3 separate regions of the Homo sapiens genome follow, and all the other regions are linked to region 3. Evidence: promoter capture Hi-C in human tissues and cell types (Jung and others, 2019). All regions are on one chromosome and are shown on one strand. The core of a region is centred on a gene start or on the middle of the fragment in contact, and the rest is flanking DNA. Distances in the headings are between cores, read along the strand shown.

Region 1 (4,049 bases), core at 736-3,235, 370 kb before region 3:
AGGAAGGCATCAGCTCTAAAATACAAGGCAGCCCCTCAAGTCAGGAGAGCCCCCACCCGCCCTAGGGACCCCATCTCTGGGAGATCTTTTTATTTTATTTTTTGAGATGGAGTCTTGCTCTGTCGCCCACCCTGGAGCATAGTGGCACAATCTCAGCTCACTGCAACCTCCACCTTCCCGGTTCAAGCGATTCTCCTGCCTCAGCCTCCCAGGTAGCTGGGACTACAGGCGCATGCCACCAAGCCCGGCTAATTTTTGTAGTTTTAGTAGTGAGAGAGTTTCACCACGTTGGCCAGGCTGGCCTTGAACTCCTGATCTCAGGTGATCCACCCACCTCAGCCTCCCAAAGCGCTGGGATTACAGGTATGAGAAACCACGGCCAGCCTCTGGGAGATCTTTCTTTTGCCCAGGCACCACCCCTCACTAGTTCCAGGTCAGGTACTCACCGCTGGCCATGGAGGGCCGCTGAGACTGCAGGCGAACCTTCACCACGTCCAGGGGTGTCACTGGGGGAGGAAGCGGGTCTGAAGGCTCCTTTCAGGACCCCACCCCTAGGACTCCTCCCCCAGGACCACACAGCCTCCAATCTCCGGTCTGCCCCATCCCCACCCGCCCCCACCCCACCTCCCCTAGGTCTTACTGAAGAGAGAGGTAACCACAGCCCCGGTGCCTGAGGCCACCATTTGCTGGAGGGGGCTGATGCCCGCAGGGTCCTGGTCAGCCATCTTGAAGCTTCAGTCCTGAAAACCAAACCTCAAACAGACCACAACTCCAGGGATGGCAGGAAAGGAGGCTGGGCCACTGTGAGACTTTTGTTTTGAGACGGCGTCTCGCTCTGCGCACTGTTGCCAGGCTGGAGTGCAGTGGCACCATCTTGGCTCACTGCAACATCCACCCCCGTTCAAGCGGTTCTCTTGCTTCAGCCTCCCAAGTAGCTGGGACTACAGGCGCGCACCACCACGCCTAGTTAATTTTTGCATTTTTAGTAGAGACAGGGTTTCACCATGTTGGCCAAGATGATCTCGATCTCCTGACCTCGTGATCCGCCCGCCTCAGCCTCCCAAAGCACTGGGATTACAGGCGTGAGCCACCGCACCCGGCCCACTGTGAGACTTTAACCCAACCCTCATCCACCGCCCTCGAAACATCTGTTGCCTCAACAACCCTGGCAATGACCTCTAAAGCAGGGACTGTCCGCCCCCCTCCGCCGGGGAAAACTAAGGCTCGGGGAGACGAGGTGGCCTGCCCAAGGTCACTCAGGAGTGGTTCCGAAGGAAGCTAGGGTGCCAGACCTATCGCTCGAATGCAGTAGGAGCCAGGGTCCTTCCCTCGTCCACCTCGCACGTGTCCACTGCGCACCTCCTACGTGCAGGCGCGGATTTGGCCCTCGTGGCCCCAAAATCAGAGTACCTGTGCTGCCCCCACAGCCCCCACTCCAGCACCAAGGCCCCGGGCAGGCACCTGAGAGCCCAAGTTACTGGGCGTGGAGGGACGGCCGGGCATCGAGGGTGACGTGTAAACAGATCCGGTGACCAAGAAGGGCCCGTCGCCTCCTCAGGACTGCGGGCTGGGATGCCCGGCCCTCCCCGCCCGGCCGGACGGGCCAGACCCGGGGCCCGGAGAGAAAGAGCAGTCTCTGGGTTCCCGCCCCAAAATGCAGGCCCGGGGCGCAGCCGGGAGAGCGGGAAGTAGGAACGTAGGACCAGGACGTCTCCCCGACCCTCGGCGACACTCCCGGCCCCGAACGGCGGAGAGCCGCCAGGTGAGGGGGACCACGCCAGCTCGACGGCCCCAGCACCTGCCCTGGCTCGCACGGCCGCCCGGAGACCCCCGCTTCCGTCTCCGCCCCCAGCCCCGGCCCAGTGCCGCCTACCTGGCTCTAGGCTGGTGCTCGTGCGGCGCGGCGCCCAGGGTCAGGCGGGCCCATACCGGCTCCGCCGCCTGTGCGCGGTCCGCGCGCGCTCGCAGCGCACCTAGGCCGACGCCGAAAGCAGCCAAGGGGGCCCCGCCCCTACACCGCGCCACGAGGCCCCGCCCGCCGCGGGCCGACCAGCCGCAAGCCCGGAGTGTCCCCGGCTCCGCCCACTCGCGTCTCCGCCCGGACCTGCGACGGTCCCGCCCCCTTGACGGGGCCGCGCGGGCGAGTTCCATGCCTGTCCAGCGCTGAGAGCTGCCGGCCAACTTCGCGGTCTCCACGTCGCGCTTAACGTGGCAGCAGCACGCACTTCCAGCATCTTTTTTTAGACAGCATCTTTTTCAGCCTCGCTCTGTCGCCGAGGCTGGAGGGCAGTGGCGCGATCTAGGCTCACTGCAGCCTTGACCTCCCGGGTTCAAGCGATCCTCCTGCCTCAGCCTCCGGAGTAGCTGGGACCACAGGCGCGCGCCGCCACGCCCGGCTGGTTTGTTACTTTTATTTTTGTCTCCCTATTTTGCCCAGGCTAGTCTGGAACTCCTGGGCTCAAGCGATCCGCCCACCTCGGTCTTCGAAAGTGCTGGGATTCCAGGCGTGAGCCGCCGCGCCGGCCTTAACAGCGCATTTTCACCAGCCCCGCCCCGGCCGCGCGCGGCACTGGAAACCCCAGCGCCTTCTGGACGGCGAGGGTGACGCACTGGCCCTCTTCCTCGGTGTCCTCAGGTGCGTGGCGGCGGCAGTGAGAATGAGTTCTTCGAGATCGCCGGGAGACCACACAATAACGACGAAGTTACTTGCCGGGCTACCCGCCGAGACTTGAAAACTTCGCGGCGACTTCTCTCGCCGGCCTTAGCATCGCCCCCATTTTTCAGGTTACAGGACAGGCCTGCAACTGCAAAACGCTTTGTAAACCACAGGGCCCCGCGCGGGTGTGCGCCACTGGGTTAGCTGAGCTGCAGCCCGGGCCGGGCGGGCTGGGACGTGAGCAAGCCGGGGGAGACGGGAGAGCCATGGGGAGCCAGATCCCACCTTCGCGTGACCTTGGGCAAATCACAACCTCGCCTAAGGCCCGGAATGACTCTGCGCGGAGAGGAAGAGCACTGAGTGCGGGAGGGCATCGACGTTTTGGTGTTGGTTGCTCTCGTATCGTGATTTCTTCTGAGTCTCAAAACTCTTTGCAGTAGGTTATTGTTGAAATAGATTACCACAGGCCGGGCGCGGTGGCTCACGCCTGTAATCCAGCACTTTAGGAGGCCGAGGCGGGCGGATCACTTGAAGTCAGGAGTTCGAGACCAGCCTGGCCAACATGGTGAAACCCCGTCTCTACTAAAAATACAAAAGTAGCCGGGCATGATGGCTGGCGCCTGTAATCCCAGCTACTCGGGAGGCTGAGGCAGGAGAATCGCTTGAACCCGGCCGGCGGAGGTTGCAGTGAGCCGAGATCGCACCACTGCATTCCAGCCTGGGCAACAGAGTAACACTCCGTCTCAAAAAAAAAGGCCGGGCGCAGTGGCTTACGCCTGTAATCCCAGCCTTTTTGGAGGCCGAGGCGGGCGGATCACCAGAGGTCAGGAGTTCGAGAGCAGCCTGACCAACATGGTGAAACCTCGTCTCTACTAAAAATACAAAAAATTAGCCGGGCGTGGTGGCGCATGCCAGTAATCCCAGCCACTCGAGAGGCTGAGGCAGGAGAATCGCTTAAACCCGGAAGGCGGAGGTTGCGGTGAGCCGAGACTGCGCCATTGCACTCCAGCCTGGGCAACAAGAGCGAAACTCCGTCTGAAAAAGAAATAGATTACCCCGTTTTACAGAAAGTGAAACTGAGGCTCGACGTGAAGAGCCGGAGATTCGAACCGGCCGGGTGCTTTTCCCAGGGCTCCACACTGCCTCCCCGGGAGACAGGAAGGCTTAAGTCCAGCGCTGCCCTCTCCGATCCCGCTTGTCAGGGAGACACTTTATTTCCCGGGGCAGCCCCGTACCCCAGGCCCCACCACCCACTTCGCGTTTAGAACTTCTGTGCTATCTTGCTTATTTGTCCTAACAGAGAAACCAGCACGCGCGGGCGGTGGCGGAGGGGGGCGGGCGGGCGGGTGGAGGCGGGGGGGGGCGGGCGGGGAGATGGGTACTCCTAGCCTGC
Region 2 (3,647 bases), core at 751-3,250, 350 kb before region 3:
CTTTGACGATTAGACTTTGTGATATTTGTTTCAGTCTGTTTAGGTTTTTTTTCTTCTACCTGTATTTTTTTCTGGTTCTGGGTGGTTGTAATTAGTAGGTTATTGATCGATTCACCTAACATTTCATGAAAGTTTCATGTGTGTGTGTGTTTCAATAGAAGCATAAACTATACTCCCTAGTCTCAAGATACACAGGAAGGAAAATAAGCACAAATGTGTCACCAGGGCACAGACTAGTACTAGGTCCTCAGCAGGCCAGGTGTCTTATCCGCTGTCTGGGTCTGCTCTAGCTCCAGGCTTAGAACCCCTGCCACACGACTCCACAGCTCGGTTGGCACCCTTTCCCTCCTCCGACTTCTGCTGCCTCGAGCTTGGTTAGCCATCCCCCTGCCCCTGCCTCATCCTCAGCTCCAGTTCCTTGCTCAGGCTGCAGCAGTCTCCATCCCCTGTGCAGACACTGCCGTTCCTCCACGGCCCAGTATCAGGCTTTCCCTGGGCCTCTCCTCTCTCCTGGCCCATCTCCCATCATCCATCTCTGCCTGGCCCAGGCCCTTTGGCACCAAGCAGGCTGACTCTTGTCACTGGCTAATCTGTTCTGTGGTACATTTTCTCTCCTCACCCTCCCATATCAATTCCTCGAAGGCAGGGCCGATCTGGAGACTAGGAAGCCACTTCTCTTTCGACAGCCCCCACCACAGCCCAGCCCGTGCCAGGCACCCAGCAGCTCCTGAAGCCCACTGGCATTGAACATGGCATTCAATCCCTGCCAAGCCTGCCCTTCCCATCTGGTTTCCCAGGGCTCTTCCCAACACCTCCTCCTCCACCTGCCAGTTAAAATCTTCCCAGACTCAGCTCAAGGAGATGCTCCTAAGGTGGAATGAAATCTCTTCTTCCCCACCTGGAGACAATCTACTTCCTCTCCCTACACCTGGCAACTGGCGCACAACCTTGTATCTTAAATTAGATTCAGCCTGAGACTGTCTCCCACCAATCCCTGCTCCCTGTCCTGCTGAGCACCTTGAGGAAAGGGCTTTGGGGCTGTTTATCTTTGTCCTGGAAACCATCCTTCAACTCACTCTGGGGCCTGCCTAGCATGTCAACCGAGTTTGGAGAATAGGGCAGAATAGGGCAGGACAGGACAGGACAAGACAGGGCAGGATAGGATAGGAGCGAGCCAGCTCAGTAGCTCACATTTGTAATCCCAGCGCCTTGGGGGGCTGCGGTAGGAGAATCGCTTTGGGAGCAGGAGTTGCAGGCCGCAGTGAGCTATGATCAGCTTGGGCGACTGAGCGAGACCCTGTCTCTAAAACAAACACACAAGTCCGGGCGCGGTGGCTCATGCCTGTAATCTTAGCACTTTGGGAGGCCGAGGTGGGCGGATCACGAGGTCAAGAAATCGAGACCATCCTGGCCAACATGGTGAAACCCCGTCTCTACTAAAAATACAAAAATTAGCTGGGCGTGGTGGTGCGCGCCTGTAGTCCCAGCTACTCGGGAGGCTGAGGCAGGAGAATCGCTTGAACCCGGGAGGCAGAGGTTGCAGTGAGCCGAGATCGTGCCACTGCACTCCAGCCTGGCGACAGAGTGAGACTCCGTCTCAGAACAAACAAACAAAAGGATAGAAAGGCGAGCACAAATATTCCCAATTCATAACACTCCCTCGCACTGTCAATGCCCCAGACACGCGCTATCATCTCTAGCAAACTCCCCCAGGCGCCTGCAGGATGGGTTAAGGAAGGCGACGAGCACCAGCTGCCCTGCTGAGGCTGTCCCGACGTCACATGATTCTCCAATCACATGATCCCTAGAAATGGGGTGTGGGGCGAGAGGAAGCAGGGAGGAGAGTGATTTGAGTAGAAAAGAAACACAGCATTCCAGGCTGGCCCCACCTCTATATTGATAAGTAGCCAATGGGAGCGGGTAGCCCTGATCCCTGGCCAATGGAAACTGAGGTAGGCGGGTCATCGCGCTGGGGTCTGTAGTCTGAGCGCTACCCGGTTGCTGCTGCCCAAGGACCGCGGAGTCGGACGCAGGTAGGAGAGCGGCCGCGCAGACCTCTCGCCTGCTCCTGCCCAGGGGCCCGCCAGGGCCATGTGAGCTTGAGGTTCCCCTGGAGTCTCAGCCGGAGACAACAGAAGAACCGCTTACTGAAACTCCTTGGGGGTTCTGATACACTAGGGGGAGTTTTATGGGAAAGAGGAAGCAGTAATTGCAGTGACGCCCCGTTAGAAGGGGCTTTCTACCTCCCCAGCATTCCCCCAAAGCAGGGACCACACCATTCTTGACCCAGCTCCACCCCTGTCGGTAGGTGCTGGCTTCTTCCCCTCTCCTGGTGGTGGTGGGTGGTTCCCGCGGCGGCCTGGAGCCGGAGGGGCGCGCGACCCTGGGCTGGGAGCTCCGAGGGCCTGGGAACGAGACCTGAGACCTTGGCTTCTCGAAGGTAGTAGGGACTTGGGAGTGGTGACTGAACCTGGTCTGGCTCCTCCTTACTTCCTCTTGTTGCGGGTGGGACGAGCTAGCTTCCGCCTCTCCCAGCCACTTTTTCCTGCTCATTTGCAGCTAGGTTGGCTCCCCTTTTGGGAATTTCCTCTCCCCTTGGCACTCGGAGTTGGGGGGTGCCACCTAGTGGAAGATAACGGAGCTAGGGTCTTGAAGAGGCTGCTGTCCCCTCTGGCTGTTTTGGCGGTGTAGGGTGGCATGAGAGACTGCGACTCGCCTCCTCATCCCTGTTTCTGTATGCGAGTGCTTGTATTCAGTAGAAGCATACACTATACTCCCTCAATTTAGGGTAAACAGGAGGGGCCACATGCACAGGTAATTCACCAGGGAGCCGAACACTCCTGTGCAGACAGACTCCCCTTCCCAGCAAGCCATGGCAGCGGACAGCCTGCTGAGAACACCCAGGAAGCAGGCGGTGCCAGCTGCAGGTGCTTTGCCTGGGAGCTGTGGGGCTGAGGAGAGGGTCCACTGTCCAGGACCAGTGAACTTCATCCTTATCTGTCCAGGAGGTGGCCTCTTGGGGATGCTGAGTTAGGGGAGGGGCACTTGAGGAAAGCCAGGTGGAGCAGAGAGGATGTGAGTGACTGGGTGGGTGAGATTTCCTGCCCCTCCCCCCGCAGTGGTATCCACACCTAGACTCGTGGGGTAACTGAGGCACAGACAGAGAGCAACTTCTCAGGCCCTCACAGTTGGCAATTCTAGGATTAGGACCCAAGTGCGATTTTCAGGCAGTCCCTGTACCCTGTTTCTGTTGTACCTGTTGCACCATTCCCAGGCACTGCCCATCGTGCCACTAGTGATATGAACCCAGGTCCAATACGCTCTGGGGCCATCAAAGCCTGACGTCACCATGACCTGATGTGTGACGTGTTATAGGTGTCCCTTGGTATCTTCACGGAACTGGTTCCAGGACCCCAAAATCTGTGGGTGCTCAAGCCCCTGAGATAAAATGGTGTAATATTTGCATATAACCTATACATACTTTAAATCATTTCTAGATTACTTATACCTAATACAATGGAAATGACATGTCGGCTGGGCGTGGTGGCTCATGCCTGTAATCCCACCACTTTGGGAGGCCGTGGCAGGTGGATCACCTGAGGTCTGGAGTTTGAGACCAGCCTGACCAACATGGTGAAACCCCCATC
Region 3 (4,139 bases), core at 1,214-3,713:
ATATAGGTATTATGCAATAAGGTTTTTTTGGTTTTTGTTTTGAGGTGGAGTCTCACGGTTGTCGTCCAGACTGGAGTGCAGTGGTATGATCTCAGCTCACTACAACCTCCGTCTCCTGGGTTCAAGCAATTCTCCTGCCTCACCCTTCCATGTAGCTGGGATTACAGGCACCCAGCACCACACCCGGCTAATTTTTTTCCTATTTTTAGTAGAGATAGGGTTTTGCCATGTTGGCCAAGCTGGTCTCAAACTGCTGATCTCAGGTGATGCACCTGCTTCGGCATCCCAAAGCGCTGGGATTACAGGCATGAGACACTGCTCCTGGCCATAATGCAATAAGGTTTTTTGAAAGCATCAACAAGCTTCTCAAAAACTGAATCAAGGTTCTCCAGACCCTAAATTTTAAGAATATCCTCAATGGCTATTTTACTACAAAAGTAACATAGCTCATGCTTTAAAAAATATTATATAAGGCCAAGCACGGTGGCTCACGCCTGTAATCCCAGCACTTTGGAAGGCCAACGCGGGTAGATCAACTGAGGTCGGGAGTTCGAGACCAGCCTGGCCAACTGGTGAAACCCCATCTCTACTAAAAAAATACAAAAAAATGGCCCTGCGCGGTGGCTCACACCTGTAATCCCAGCACTTTGGGAGGCCGAGGCGGGCAGATCACGAGGTCAGGAGATCGAGACCATCCTGGATAATAGGTGAAACCCCGTCTCTACTAAAAATACAAAAAAAAATTAACTGGGTGTGGTTGCGGGCGCCTATAGTCCCAGCTACTAGGGAGGCTGAAGCAGGAGAATGGCGCGAATCCGGGAGGCAGAGCTTGCAGTGAGCCGAGATCTGACCACTGCTCTCCAGCCTGGGCAACAGAGTGAGACTCCATCTCAAAAAAAAACAAAAAAAACAAAAAAATTAGCCAGCTATGGTGGTAGGCGCATGTAATCCCAGTTACTTGGGAGGCTGAGGCAGGAGAATTGCTTGAAACCAGGAGGCGGAGGTTACAGTGAGCTGAGATTACGCCATTGTACTCCAACCTGGGCAACAAGGGCAAAACTCTGTCTCAACAAAAAAAAAGAAAAAATTATATAAATGGATAAGCGACAAATTGAAAGCTTACAAAAAATAAAATACGCAAATTAAGATTGCAGTGAAATACCACGTCCGCTTTTCAGATCAAAAAAGTCTGATAATATGCTGTATTGAACTGTGCTTGGGTAAAAGACATTGGAAAATGTTAGAGCAGAAAGTAAATGGATCTGGTCTTGTTGGAGGACTGTTTGTTTGAAAAGACCCAGCATTTCTGCTTCTGGGAATTTGTTCATAAGTTATTCATTTATTTTTATCTTTACTTGTGGTAAAATACACAATTTGCCATCTTAACTATTTTTAAGTATACGATTTAATAGTGTTAAGTATTAATTATTTTTAAAATTTTTGGTTTAAACTGGGCGTGGTGCCTGTTTAAACTGGGCGTGGTTTAAACTGGGCGTGGTTGGCTGGGCGCGGTGGCTCACGCCTGTAATCCCCGCACTTAGGGAGGCCAAGGTGGGTGGATCACTGAGGTCAGGAGTTCAAGACCAGTCTAGCCAACATGGCAAAACCCTGTCTCTACTAAAAATATAAAAATTAGCCAGGTGTGGTAATGCATGCCTATAGTCCCAGCTACTTGGCCACTTGAGAAGCTGAGGCAGGAGATTCACTCGAATTCGGGACACGGAGGTTGCAGTGAGTTGAGATAATGCCACTGCATTCCAGCCTGGGCAACAGAGTGAGACTCTGTCTCAAAAAAAGAAAAAAATTTTGATTTAATATTTTGTATAATGGCCAGGCACACTGGCTTACACCTGTAATCCCAGTACTTTGGGAGGCTGACAAGGGAGGATTGCTTGAGGCCAGGAGTTCGAGACTAACCTGGTCAACATAATGAGACCCCAGCTCTACAAAAAAAAAAAGTGGTGGTGCATGTCTTTTGTCCTACCTACTCAGGAGGTTGAGGCAAGAGGATCACTTGAGCCCAGGAGCTCAAATTTACATGAGCTATGATGATGCCACTGCATTCTAGCCTGAACAACAGAACAAAACTCTGTCTTTAAAAAATAAAACTGTGCATTTGTGTAGAATCACATTTTTCTAAGGATATTCATTGTAGTGAAGCTTTTTGTAGTAAAAGAATAGTCTACATTTTATGTATATGAGACTGGTTCAAAAACTCTGGTAGCCACACAAAGAAGTATTGCACAGCTGTAAAAAAAAAAAAAAAAATGAACAAAGAGGCCGGGCGCGGTGGCTGGTGCCTGTAGTCCCAGCACTTTGGGAGGCCAAAGCAGGTGGATCACCTGAGGTCAAGAGTTCGAGACCAGCCTGGCCAACTAAAAATACAAAAATTAGCTGGGCATGGTGGTAAGCACCTGTAATCCCAGCTACTCGGGAGGCTGAGGCAGGAGAATCGCTTGAATCCAGGAGGCAGAGGTTGCAGTGAGAGGAGATCATGCCATTGCTCTCCAGCCTGGGCTACAGAGCAAGACTCCGTCTCGAAAAAAAAAAAAAAAAAAGAACAAAGAAGCTCTTTATGCACTGACATGTATCAAAGTTCGAGATACATTGTTTAAAAAGTACAGATCAACAATATGTAATGCTTGCCACCATCACTATTTAAAAAGAAGTTAGGGTAGGGGAATACATGTACATATGTGTCCTTGTATGTGCATAGGCTATCTCTGGAAAGATACACCAGGGATATGTGAGAATGGTTGTCCACTGAGGAGGAGAACTGAAGGAGACTGGTTTTGAACTGTTATATTTATTTACTTTGTATCTTTTTGTAAAAGAAAGCAAATTTGAAGCCCTTTCTCCAACCTCATTTTCTCCCCTCTCTCCCCAGATGTAACCACTATTCCTGAATTTGGTGTTTATTTTCTTCTTGAATGTTTTTAAACATAGTACACATTGCTACATATATAATACATATTACAACATATGGATGTATCCATAATATATCACATTGGTGTGCATGCTGTACTTTTCATTCTGCAATGTGCTTTTTCACTCAAGGTTGTTTAAAATATTTACCCATGTTGGGCCGGGCGCAGTCGCTCATGCCTGTAATCCCAGCACTTTGGGAGGCCTAGGCGGGTGGATCAGCTGAGGTCAAGAGTTTGAGACAAGCCTCACCAACATGGTGAAACCCCATCTCTACTAAAGCTACAAAAATTAACTGGGCGTGGTCACGCACGCCTGTAATCCCAGCTACTTAGGAGGCTGAGGCAGGAGAATAGCTTGAACCTGGGAGGCGGAGGTTGCAGTGAGCCAAGACTGCGCCACTGCACTCCAGCCTAGGTGACAGAGCAAGACCCTGTCTCAAAAAATATATACGTGTATATGGCCGGGCACGGTGGCTCATGCCTGTAATCCCAGCACTTTGGGAGGCCAAGGCGGGCGGATCACCTGAGGTCAGGGGTTCGGGACAAGCCTGACCAACATGGAGAAACCCCATCTCTACTAAAAATGCAAAATTAGCCAGGTTTGGTGGCACATGCCTGTAATCCCAGCTACTTGGGAGGCTGAGACAGGAGAATCGCTTGAACCCGGGAGGCGGAGGTTGCGGTTAGCCGAGATCGCGCCATTGCACTCCAGCCTGGGCAACAAAAGCGAAACCCCATCTCAAAAAAAAAAAGAAAAAAATATATATAATATATATGTATCTATATATATTTTATATATATCTTTACCCATGTTGATATATGTAGCTCTTATCCATCCATTTAAATCACTGCATAGTATTCCGTTGCTTTAATATGCTCCAGCTGATCCATTCCTCTGCCGATGGATGGTGAGGTTAGTTCCTAGTTTTCCAGTCAGTGCACCAGTTCACATTCTTAGGTGGTCCCCTTGCCCACCATGGGAAAGTTCCTCTAGATCAGTGAGCATCAGACATTTTTGCCACATACTCTTAGCAGTAAAAATATTCTCAGCATGTACACCTAATGCACTAATATGTAGTTATTTATGAATTATTTGTGTGAACTGCTATATCAAATTAGTATGTCCATCATAAAACATACAAAAAGAGAACTACAAAAAGGAGAAAATCGTTAAAAAATGAAGTAGGCCGGGCGTGATGGCTCACACCTGTA

What was found. The method cuts DNA at HindIII sites, captures the fragments that hold promoters and counts their contacts. A contact is called where the count stands out against the background at its distance.
Region 1: the fragment with the promoter of SLC25A39 here is called in contact with a fragment that was not itself captured in region 3 in 1 of the 25 tissues and cell types used here (hippocampus).
Region 2: the fragment with the promoter of GRN here is called in contact with a fragment that was not itself captured in region 3 in 1 of the 25 tissues and cell types used here (dorsolateral prefrontal cortex).

What each region holds. Positions count from the first base shown.
Region 1 is chr17:44,322,838-44,326,886 of GRCh38, forward strand. SLC25A39 (solute carrier family 25 member 39) reads right to left here and starts at 1,986. Exons shown (of 12, transcript NM_001143780.3): 1 at 1,874-1,986; 2 at 641-740; 3 at 447-506; 4 at 1-15. The coding sequence starts at 725. LOC124904009 (a long non-coding RNA gene) reads left to right here and starts at 2,616. Exons shown (of 2, transcript XR_007065768.1): 1 at 2,616-2,784. RefSeq lists silencers at 1,529-1,748, 1,769-2,198, enhancers at 2,299-2,488, 2,649-2,728, 2,779-2,838, 2,909-3,760, 3,019-3,068 and 1 more and a cis regulatory region at 3,733-4,049. The HindIII fragment of the contact is 13,748 bases long and covers 1-4,049 here.
Region 2 is chr17:44,343,302-44,346,948 of GRCh38, forward strand. GRN (granulin precursor) reads left to right here and starts at 2,001. Exons shown (of 13, transcript NM_002087.4): 1 at 2,001-2,033. RefSeq lists enhancers at 47-972, 2,124-2,273. The HindIII fragment of the contact is 17,447 bases long and covers 1-3,647 here.
Region 3 is chr17:44,692,270-44,696,408 of GRCh38, forward strand. No RefSeq gene overlaps it. Among named protein-coding and RNA genes, the nearest start is that of CCDC43, 4.6 kb to the left of the region's middle. The HindIII fragment of the contact is 6,435 bases long and covers 1-4,139 here.